Linked DNA regions of Homo sapiens: all the other regions are linked to region 2. Evidence: promoter capture Hi-C in 16 types of primary human blood cells and fetal thymus (Javierre and others, 2016). All regions are on one chromosome and are shown on one strand. The core of a region is centred on a gene start or on the middle of the fragment in contact, and the rest is flanking DNA. Distances in the headings are between cores, read along the strand shown. Region 1 overlaps RELL1 (RELT like 1). Region 2 holds the start of ATP8A1 (ATPase phospholipid transporting 8A1). Region 3 holds the start of COMMD8 (COMM domain containing 8).

What was found. Contacts are between HindIII fragments. The CHiCAGO score rates a contact against its expected background, and 5 or more counts as called.
Region 1: a contact is called between a fragment that was not itself captured here and the fragment with the promoter of ATP8A1 in region 2, in 1 of 17 cell types (fetal thymus). The highest score is 6.2, in fetal thymus.
Region 3: the fragment with the promoter of COMMD8 here is called in contact with the fragment with the promoter of ATP8A1 in region 2 in 2 of 17 cell types (naive CD4 T cells and non-activated CD4 T cells); the score reaches 6.1 in naive CD4 T cells.

What each region holds. Positions count from the first base shown.
Region 1 is chr4:37,682,107-37,685,721 of GRCh38, forward strand. All of the region lies in intron 1 of RELL1 (RELT like 1), which reads right to left. Among named protein-coding and RNA genes, the nearest start is that of RELL1, 2.5 kb to the right of the region's middle. RefSeq lists an enhancer at 668-717. The HindIII fragment of the contact is 2,505 bases long and covers 663-3,167 here.
Region 2 is chr4:42,655,024-42,658,575 of GRCh38, forward strand. It overlaps ATP8A1 (ATPase phospholipid transporting 8A1), which reads right to left and starts at 2,082. Exons shown (of 37, transcript NM_006095.2): 1 at 1,802-2,082. The coding sequence starts at 1,850. It overlaps ATP8A1-DT (ATP8A1 divergent transcript), which reads left to right and starts at 2,500. Exons shown (of 1, transcript NR_186688.1): 1 at 2,500-3,324. RefSeq lists enhancers at 1,269-1,318, 2,309-2,518 and a silencer at 1,809-2,278. The HindIII fragment of the contact is 6,451 bases long and covers 1,077-3,552 here.
Region 3 is chr4:47,462,391-47,466,275 of GRCh38, forward strand. COMMD8 (COMM domain containing 8) reads right to left here and starts at 1,312. Exons shown (of 5, transcript NM_017845.5): 1 at 1,196-1,312. The coding sequence starts at 1,261. LOC107986277 (a long non-coding RNA gene) reads left to right here and starts at 1,493. Exons shown (of 3, transcript XR_001741683.3): 1 at 1,493-1,561. RefSeq lists a silencer at 1,043-1,302 and an enhancer at 2,951-3,000. The HindIII fragment of the contact is 2,743 bases long and covers 936-3,678 here.

The DNA.
Region 1 (3,615 bases), core at 665-3,164, 5.0 Mb before region 2:
ATTATGTATATAACTGACAGGAAATTAATTGTAAGAATGAAATGATCTAGGTATTTAGACTACCGCCTGCACACAAACCAGGTAATAATAAAAATTGAATTCCTTTTTCCTAAAAGAGTAAAGTGTCTACAGTGTACTAACACCAAATTCTGATTTTAGTTTTTATAAATCACACCAGAATTATTAATATACCCGCTTTCAGCAGCACACCAAATCTTTACAACCACTTAAGTGTCCGAAATTATTAGGAACCACTCAACCTAATAGTTTATACCAATGACAATTTAATTTATTCTTTTTGTCAGCTTTAAATCATTTCTCTATTGTTTCAATAAGTCATTAAACTTCAACATTAGGGCCAAAGAATCATTTTTAAAGAAACAATAAAATCTGTTGTTTGTTCACTTGGGGCTTTGGTCTCTCACATTCAAATTCAACTCTTCAAATTTCCAAATAGATTCATTTCATTTCCATTTTTAGAGGGGGTAGGGGCAGGGAATTGACAGAGACTTCTCACATTTTTCATTTCCTTTTAAAATTAAATGTAGATATGGACTCCCAAGCTCCAAGGTGTGCTTTTTCAAAACTTTCCAAACACTATATATTATGTGGATGTACAGCTTCGCAGCTACCTGGCTAAGAGAGACCCCAGAATTTAATAAAGCTTATCTTTAGTTTCTAAAAAGGAGTCAGAATGCTGGAGGGAAGCCTGCAGCCCAAGGACAATGCATTTTTCATCTCACCAGCCCCAGGACCTCTTCCACCCACTCCTTACTCGAGGGCTATGCCCACTGTCTGAGAGAGAAACTAATAAACCTGAAGGTTGAGTAACCAGAGAACTTAAGGACATTAATAAGCCAAGACGTGGAAAATCATCCCTTTGGGTGCTTGTGGTATATAGTTTCGAATGCTGCTGCTAAGAGACAAGTTTAATGAGATTCTTCTACTAGGAAGGAAGTGAAAAAGGCATTGCCACTACCCACCGTGAAGCTATCTGCCCTTCTTTTCTCTACTTGACAACTTCTGATAACCACATGCTTACAATTTTATGACGTTCTAAACTATCTTAGAATCTCAGCGAGATTGCAGAGGTTGACTCATATTCTATTTTTCCTCTGCAGAGCAGTGGGGTACAGTGGAAAGGGAATGAACTTTGGAATCAAGCAGGCTGGGTTATCCCAGATAAAGATACATATAAAGGTACACACATACACAGACACCTCCTAGTGGTTCTGCTTCTCTGAATGCTGACTGGCACAGTACCTATGTGATGTTCAGCCAGTTGTTTAACCTCTCTTGCCTCAGTTGCCTTACTGGAAGTAAGTATTTCACAGGGTTATGAGCAATGAGTTTAAAAATGCCTATGAAGGCTGGGCGCGGTGGCTCACACCTGTAATCCCTGCACTTTGGGAGGTCGAGAAGGGCGGATCACTTGAGGTCAGGAGTTACAAACCAGCATAGCCAACATGGGGAAGCCCCGATTCTACTAAAAAATACAAAAATTTGCCAGGCATGGTGGCGGGCGCCTATAATCCCAGCTACTAGGGAGGCTGAGGCAGGAGAATTGCTTGAGCCTGGGAGGTGGAGGTTGTAGTGAGCTGAGATCGCACCACTGCACCTCAGCCTGGGAGTCAGAGCAAGACTCTGTCTCAAAAAACAATAAAAATAAAAATAAATAAACAAATAAAAATGCGGCCGGGCGCGGTGGCTCACGCCTGTAATCCCAGCACTTTGGGAGGCCAAGGTGGGCGGATCACGAGGTCAGGAGATGGAGACCATCCTGGCTAACACGGTGAAACCCCGTCTCTACTAAAAATATAAAAAATTAGCCAGGCATGGTGGCGGGCGCCTGTAGTCCCAGCTACTCTGGAGGCTGAGGCAGGAGAATGGCGTGAACCCGGGAGGCGGAGCTTGCAGTGAGATCGCGCCACTGCACTCCAGCCTGGGCGACAGAGCAAGACTCCGTCTCAAAAAGAAAAAAATAAATAAAAATAAAAATGCATACAAAGTACTCAACCCAAAGCCTGGCACACAGCAGGCACTCAACAGTATTTCCCATTCCTTTCCCTCTACTTCCCTATGCTCAAGGTACAAACATTAACACCATCTTTGGTTGCAAGGGGATCAGATGTTGGCTGGTCAGAGCATCTTCTCTTTACACACGCCTCAAGATACTGGCAAATTTGTGCTCTGTATCCTTTCCTTTTTAGACACCTGTTTCTTCTTCCGCATTAATTTTCATCAAAAAAAAAAAAAGGCTGTCATGCAATTAGATGAGAGCTTTCATCAGTCACATTCTAGTCCTGAGACCTGGGTGTTGCTCAGAGGTCAAACCAAACACACACCCACTCTAGGGATGGATTTCTCCTGCTGATGATGGCTAATTACATGCATCATGTGCTGAATTTTTAATAATTTTACTCCCAGATTAAACTCTTCCCCAGATTCTGTTGCAACTGACTCTAACCCTCTAATGAATGTCTCCAACCTCACATCCAAGTGGAACCTGATTATGCACCTATGTGTCCCAGCAATCAAACGCAGGATGAAAATCAAAATGAACCAGCAGGGCATGGTGGCTCATGCCTGTAATACCAGCACTTTGGGAGGCCGAGGCAGGAGGATCACTTGAGGTCGGGAGTTCGAGACCAGCCTGGCCAATATGGCAAAACCCCATCTCTACTAAAAATACAAAAATTAGCCGGGCATGGTGGCACATGCCTGTAATCCCAGCTGCTCAGAAGGCTGAGGCAGGAGAATCACTTGAACCAGAGAGCTGGAGGTTGCAGTGAGCCGAGGTTGTGCCACTGCACTCCAGTCTGGGTGACAAAATGAGCCCCTGTATCAAAATAAGGAAAAGAAAAAAAAAATTGTCCCATCCAGTAAAACATGTCACTAGCTGCCATTTCCCCAGGTGGATGGCTAACGGAAATACGGGCCTGCTAAAAAGACTCAGGAGACAATATTATCCATCTCCTTCCCTTCCAACCTGCTCTGGTTTCTATGAAAAAGTGAAGGCCAAACTGCTAAGTCAGTGTAAAAGTTGTAAGCGACTGAAATGTTCTCAGGAGGAAGAGTTTATGGATGTTTATGGAGGAGACAGTCACTGTTGAAAGGCTTCCAGTTGCTTATTATTTGGGCCTGAGGAGGAACCACCGCTGAAATCAAGCTTGGAAGAGCTTGCTGACGTCAGATTCCCAGCTGTAGTAACCCCAAATGGCCAAGTAAGTATGTTTTTTTTTTAACTGCAGCTGTTAGGTGGCAATTAAGAGGGGAAGCGGTGGTAAGGAATCCCTAGTGTCTGTAATTATAAAAGCAAGGATGTGACATAGGACTTCCATAAAACTTACACCTCCTCTTAAGATTGATTTCAATTAAAAACTGCTTCATCGTTGGTGACACTTTAGCATCTCTGTTGGTGGCTTCCTGCCCTGACCACACAAGGTTCCTTTCGTGACGACAGGAATCAACAAAAAGAAGAAAAAAATGTAAGTTTACCAACGCGCCTTCCCTTTTTCCGAGCCTGATTTATACAGGATATATGGGAAGAAATGTGGACTCCTTGACCTGTTACAAGAATCCATCAACCACCCAAATAAATGGAAACGTGGAAAG
Region 2 (3,552 bases), core at 832-3,331:
AACTGGAATCAACTAATCTCAGGGGAAAGGGTCATTCACTCACCAAGCACCACTATGGCCCTGACACTGTGCTGGACGCACAGGGAATACAAAGATTAAACAAGCAGCAGTCCTTGTTTTCCCAGAGCTCTTAATCCAAATGTGTCACTGAACTAGTTACTTGACCTTGGGCAAATTACTAAACCATATGGGCCACAGTTTCCTCAACTATCAGATGGCACTCCACCTTCACCAACCTCCAGGAGTGTTGTAAGTTTCCATAAAGTAATCTTTGTAAAAGTACTTTGGAAAATACACAAGCCAATCAAGAACAATACTGCAGCCCTGTAATCCCCTCACATGCCACAGGTTTTGCAGTGCTCTCAGACTTTTTCTCTTCCCCTTATTTCCCACAATATAGGACCCATCAATTGCTATTATTTAAAAGAACACCACCAACTATTACCATTCTACTTTCACTATCTCTATGACTAATTTCACTCAGAAGTGTAAAAAAAATGAATTTTTACAGTGTGCATTTTAAAAGTATAATGTATTCAACTGTGTATGTAAAACTATAATGCCCTATATAAGTATTTTTTGGGTATTACAAATGACAGCATGTACCGAATTCCTATGTAGTACACAGGCCAGTTTTGAATCTTGCTTCGTCTTCTCCCCACAGCAGTTTCATTTAATATTTCCTAAATACTGCAATCAGAAAATTTCAGGGACCCTATTTTTACAGGGAGCCCCTAAGGAGAAAAAATGGCCTGTCTCCATCCCTGAAATCCAATTCTCCTAACTTATATATTTTTCTAAAACCACTTCACCACCTGTCTCACATTAAAAGATGGAGGTGGGGAGGAAGAGTGGGAATCAGCGATGATGGCAAGATAGATTTCTGAAAAACATGTTATTCCACCCTCTGCAGGATTCAAGTACAGGTTTATGGGAGAGGACAAACAAACCTTGGGATATTTACAGTCTTGGCTTTGACGCGAGCAAAATCAAATAATATTTACAGAGTGCCTGCCACATGGCAGGCAGGATGTTGAGGGCTCCTCGGAGACGATGAAGAGTCTGGGCCCTCGGAAAGCTTACTTGCTTCTACCCCGGAGCATCTGTTGCTCAGTGTTGACAACCATGGCCATTCAAGAGCTGGCCCCAGGTGGAGCAAAGAAAACAGCTTCCACCTGGCTGAAAAGTCAGCTCAGCTGGCCGAAGTGAGGGTTTCGGGCAAAAGGGAAACACAAAAACGAAACCTCAGACGCGAGCCGGTGGGACTCCGCTGCAGGAGGCAGAATTGCAGAAGCTGTAATGCAGGGAACCCACTCGGCACCCGACCCCGATGAAGGCTCCCCGCGCTTCGAGAGCCAAGGGACTACGGATCAAAGGATCCTGCAGCCGGGGAAAAGCAAACTCGCTTCGCTGGGAGCTCAGATAGGGGGTTGCAAAACGGTGGGCGCCGGAGGCAGGGGCGGCGGGCTGGGGATCTGCTGAGTGGAAATCGAACTGGTGGGGAGGGAGGTGGGCAGGGCGAGTGAGCTCAGTGACTGGGACCTAATGGTCACACTGCGGTGCAAAGCACGCCTCGGGGCTCCCGCGGAGAACACCCATTCGAGGGTACTGGAGCCTGGAAAGGGTCTGCGAGTACACTGGGGGCAGCGCGGGGGGAAGGGTCCCCTAGGGGCCGGGCGCGACAGTCGGACTGCCGCCGGGGAAGAGGTAGGATGCGGTCTCTTCCAGGATAAACACACACGCTCACACACACACTCGCTTCCCGACCCCGGGCTAGCCCCGAGCCTCGGCGGCCCCTTACCTTCGGCGCGCGAGCGGATCTCCGACACGGTCCTCCGCATGGTGGGCATCGCGGCGGCGGCTGCAGGTGGGTCCTCAGCCCGGACTCTGCACCTGTCACGGCGTGGTACACGCGGGAGACCCGGCTGCGCCGCGCAGAGCGCTCAGCTGCAGCCTGGGCCGCGCCGCCGCCCACCTAGGGCAGAGCTGCCGCCGGGCGCGGCCCCCGCACGCCGACAGGAGGAGGAGAAAGGCAGCGGTGGCGGCGAAGGTGGCGGCGCCCGCAGAGCTGGGCGAGCTCTTGCTGCAGCCGCGGAGGGGCGGCTCGGCGAGGGGCGGAGCTCGGGCGCCGGCGCCGGGGGAGGGGCCTGCGGGGCTCGCGCTCCCCCTCCCGCGGCCGCTCAGCAAGGAAGGCGGGTGAGGGGCGGGGAGAGCCAGGGGGAGCCTCCTTCGCCCCGCCCCGCCCCGCTTCGGACCGTATCACGACTCAAAGGGGGGATCAACTCTTAGCCTCCTTAGTCCTCCAGCGTTTTCGCTCCGCCCTGTGGAGTTGGTTGACCCGGTTCCTCCTCCAGGCCACTCGGACTCTCTCACATCTTGCTCAGAAAGGAAAGACTGCTCTGGCTGCTGCATTCTCACGAATCCCCTCCCGCTACCCCTGGCTTTTGATCGCAGTGGAGCCGCCCGTCGTCCGGAAAGAGCTGTTGGGTCTGAGCCGGCAGGCGAAGGCGAAAGGGTCTGGGACTACAAGGTTTAGCTCCCAGCCAGAGCAGGAAAGGAACGACTGACTGTTCGCCATCTGGGTGTAATTCTAACCTCTCTGCACGCCCAGCCCGACTCGTGGCCTGAGCCGCACTTGTCCTCCTGCCTCGCCCACTAGCAACAGGCTGCCAGGTCGGGAGGCCCCTGGTGCCCATGGTGCTCTTGTCCATGGGGCTTGGGTGCATCTGGGCCCCGCCTGCAAGTGGGCCCGGTGCATCTCCCTAGTTCAGGCTCTGCAGCCTGACAAGGCACTGAAATAGCAATTAAGCCAACTAAGTATTGGCCCAGGTGGTTCACAAAAGACTTTTTTTTTTTCTTTTAGTTAAATCTGCATAAAGTTGGATGCAGTCGTTTTATCTGCAAAGGGGAGAGGAGTCTTTGTATAAAATCCATAAATATGTTAAATTTTAATTTGCCGATGTCCTTCAGACTATCATAGCCTCATTACCTTTTATTTTGTATACCGAGATCTATGCTAAAAAGTTGTCAAAACAAATACTTCACCTTCAAGTTAAGATGTAAGGTTTTGTGCTGTTTCTGGCGAGCTGCTGAACTGGCAGGAAAGGAATAAACCAGAAACAATAAATCAGAAGCAATTTGCTTCTTCCCTCATTTCATGCTCTTCCTCCAGCAACCAGCGAAAGAGATCCTCACATAGAGGCCTTTTATTTGAGATCTTTTCACATCCTGAAGGGAGAGAGCTGGAGAGGTTTGACCTGAGAGAGAAGTGATTATTTCCAAGCCTCAGGAAAAAATGAAATAAAATCTGCTAATAGCGTCCTATCTCCATTTGTGGTATTTCTTCTGCTTCCTGCAGGTAGCACTTGCTAATCAGAGCCCTGCCCTACATTAATACTCAGGCAGTCAATGCATATTTATGAAGAGCCCACTCTAGTTGGCTCTGATTCAGAGGCTGGAATTAGAACAAAGAAAATGTATTCTCAGTGTTCATGGAACATCTCAGGGTAAAGCAGGACTCAACAATAAATGAATCTATCTGTTTCAGTGATA
Region 3 (3,885 bases), core at 62-2,561, 4.8 Mb after region 2:
ACAAACCGAAAATGAGGCTACGGGAGGAGTAGGTCCAGGGGGAAAGAAGAGCTGAGGCAAGGGCATACTGAATTTGAGGTACCTGTGGCAGAAGCCTGACACTCAGGGAAGAGATTTTGGTTTGGGGTTTTTGGGGTTTTGTTTTGTTTTTTACCTGGCATTCTTGAACCATAGAGGAAGAAATTTTTGGCTGGACCTAAAGATTTAGAAGTCATCGACATATATGGTAATAAAGGTTATGGGCCTTATCTAAATGGGTAGAGTGAAGACAAGGAGAGCCAAAAGCCAATAAAACACTCAGAATCAACAGATCTGAGCATAAGTTCCAGCTCTGCCACTAACTGGATGGGCAATCCTGGGCAAGTTAGCCAAAATTTCTGCTGACATTTCAGGTTCCTCACTTGCAAAAACAAAGAAAAGAATTAGGTGTTTTTTTTTCTTGACCCTGGCAGGAGGTAAGTTCATTCCTTTCTGTCTCCTCCACACTTTCTCCAGTATAAATGGAATAGAGGAAACAGGAAGCCAAAATTGAGACTTATAAAAAAGATGCTCCACCAGGGCACAGGCTGTGTCTCACTCACCATTTACCTCATCCCATCGGGGCGCTCAATCTATGGTAGACTTCAATGAAAAACTGGCTGAACAAATGAATGTGGTTGCTTTTTCCAGATTCTTACAAGCCAGGTTCTTTTACAGACTGGAAGTCAATGGGTACATCACCTCTTGGGACGATCCTAACTAAAGTAACTCGCCCAGTTATTTCTCTTCCTACCAACCACCCTCAAGGGGGGAGGCAGGGTCCGCTTCGGTCTTTGTCACATTGTATTCCAGCACCTAGCTCTGTACCTGCTGTCCGGTAGGTAGGGAGCCTTTGGGAGGTTATGTGTTGAATGAATTAAGAAAACGTATACTAAGAGGCAGCAAACACCGACTTAAGCTTTCAAAGCCCAGTCTGGTGTGGGCGCTTCTGCGCGCAAAGCCCCTGGAGCTGCACCTCTAGGCTGGGGGTGGCGCCCCAAGCTGTCCTCCTAGGCTCCCCAGGGAAGGCGGGGACCAACCACCCGAAATCACGCCCCTTCCTCCTCCCTTCCCTAGGGAGCTTGCGAAGGCGTCCGGGTCGCACCCGGCCTGATCCGCACGCCGGGCTGTCGCGAATCCCAGGCCCCGCGCCGCTTCCCCCGGTACCCGCCCTCACCTGCGGGCCCAGCTCGGCCGGCAGCTTCTGCAGCCGCCACAAGGGCGTCCCCTCTTCCGGCTCCATCCCTGCGCGAAGCTGGGGCTTGGGTCACGTGTCAAGGCTGGCCGCTTGTCTAAAGCTACGACTCGCCCACGTGACTCTCGCCGGCGGGGAGGGGCGTGGACCCAAGAAGTCCCTGTGCGCTTGCGCAGAGACCGAACTACCGCTTTCCCCGTAACCAGGGAGACTGCAGTTTGCAGTGATGTGGCTAAGATACCCTTGTGCTATTAAAGGCACATTTACGTATCTTTCAACGCAGTTTGTACCTTTGTTTAGGGTTCTATTGAACTTTCTCTGTGCTCTTTAGAAAACCGTCGAATAAAGGTAACCATCTTTTTGGGTGCCTGGGCATGGTCATTGTCCCAGAGTTTTAACAGAAGTCTCTACTAAAGTATCCTGATTTGCAAGGTAAATTAAGGTTTTGCCATGAGCAACGTTCTGTATATAGATCATCCTAGGGAGAAGGTACTATTTTCAGCCCTATTTGCAGAAAGCAAACATGATTAGAGAAGTCACTAAGGTTGTCAGATTTAGCAAATGAAAATACCAAGCGTCCAGTTAAATGTGAAATTTCAGATAAACAATAATATTTTGTTGTAAGTATCCCCTAAATATTGTATGGGATATATTTATACTGAAAATTATTTGTCCATCTGAAATTCAAATTTAACTGGTGTCCTGTATTTTATCTGGCAACGCTAAAAATCACTGACCTAAGTAAGAGGCCCAGTCTGAAGTTAAACAAAATCAATCAGACTCAAGAGCCATGCTATTAATGTTGGACTAAGCTCAAAGTCCAAATATCCTTTCTGTTATTTCTTATTACAGCTGTTACTTTAATCAGGTGCTGAAGAATTCAGTGGTGGTAAAATGAGCATGTCCTGCAAAAGCGGATAATAATAACTAGTAGACCAGAAACAGGAATTACAATCTAATTTATAAATTTAATAATAAAAGTGGTGCAAAATGGTGAAGCAGAAGAGAAAGTATTCAATCTATGGGCTACGCAGAGAAAAACTACTCATTAGCAGCATTCTAGGTTTACCTCCTACGTCCTTTCTCTGTGTGCCTCAACTCTAAAAGGTGAAGTCAATTTCTTTCTCCCGTGAGTTTTCATGATATTTTAGCTGTCCCTCACTTATTTACCACTTTCTAGTTCTTAATGCAGATAGATGCACAACACTCATTGCCCTATCTTAAATGTAATTGTCTTAAGATACTTTGTGAATAGGAGCTCCCCTAGTAATAGTTAAAATGAGAAGTCTGGAAAACTACTTCACCTGAGTCTTTCTGTAAATCTAATGATGGGTAAGGTCTATTTTGAGAAAAAAACTTAAATTTTATGTATTATAATAATTGGGAGAAAAGTACTTTCAAGCATCTACTATATGTCAAACCCTTCATATATTTTTATCTTACTAATTCCTGCTACAGCCTTGTACAGTGGGTATTACAGATGAGGAAATGAACTTGAAGTAATATATTTTGTAAGGTCACATAGATAGTAGTTACAAAATCACTGGTCTGAGGCCAGAAACGGTGATCTCAGTTTGCATGCTTGACTACCCCTGCTGAGGAACTGAAATGATATGGCTTACCTAAGGCCACGTAACATGACTAAATAAGGTAAAATGACACACCTAACAGGGCCCAAGGTTTAGTCAGAGGACAGAGAATTAGGTCCTAACTCATCTTTCAAGCAACACTGAGTACTAAGAAGAATTTGATCTTTACTCTTGAATTTGGATGGGACAAAATTTAGCCTGCAACAAATATGGTTTCCAAAATAGTTAACAACTTGCAAGAGAGACAGCGCTTAATATTTGCCCTTTGATTAGTAAGAGGATGTTCTTATGTGTGTAATCCAAGAGGTTTTCAAAACATATGTCTGTCTCTTGTAGTTCCATCTCTATGAGGTATATTCTGGTCTCCATCTCCCAAATCTTATTTGTACTATAGCAATCTTTAAATGCATGAACTCTGGAGCTAAACTTCATAAGTTCAAACCCTGGCTCTGCAAATGACTATGTACTCTGGGCAAGCTATTTTCACTTCTCTGTGTTTCTCATTCCTTACAACAACCCTGTAAATTGTATAATTGGTTATAATGACAGCCTAGGATTTACAGGGTGGTTGTAAGTTGATATATGTGAAGTTCTTGCAATGAAGTCTGGCCTGGCACATAGAAAATTGTATTATATTCCCTTCTATGTGGACTTCTTTGCTCTACTGTTATCTAGCCAAAGTCTAGTGGGTTCCAGAAAGTTACCCTCCTAGTGAACTGTCACTGCCTTAGAGATGTGATCTGCATCTGAAACCCAACTAGCCAGCTATATAGTGCTGTATAGGTGATGTAGGTCATTGCTAACAGCTGGGAGAGGTGTACAAAGATCTTAGGTAAACCACAGTGTGTGCCCTTGCTGAGCTTAAACTGGAATTCAAGCTTGCTATTTGTGAAATAATTTGGTGCTCTTTTTCTGAAGTTAGTTTCCTTGAGATTTTTTGTTTTGAGGTGGAAGGAGGAAAGAGTTTTGCGCGCCATGCTTTGGGAAATTCACTCATTCACTCATTCTTTAACAATTGTTGATTAAACATCTACCATTGATTAGATGCTCTAATGACTCTGGGAATGCAAGCAGTGGACAATA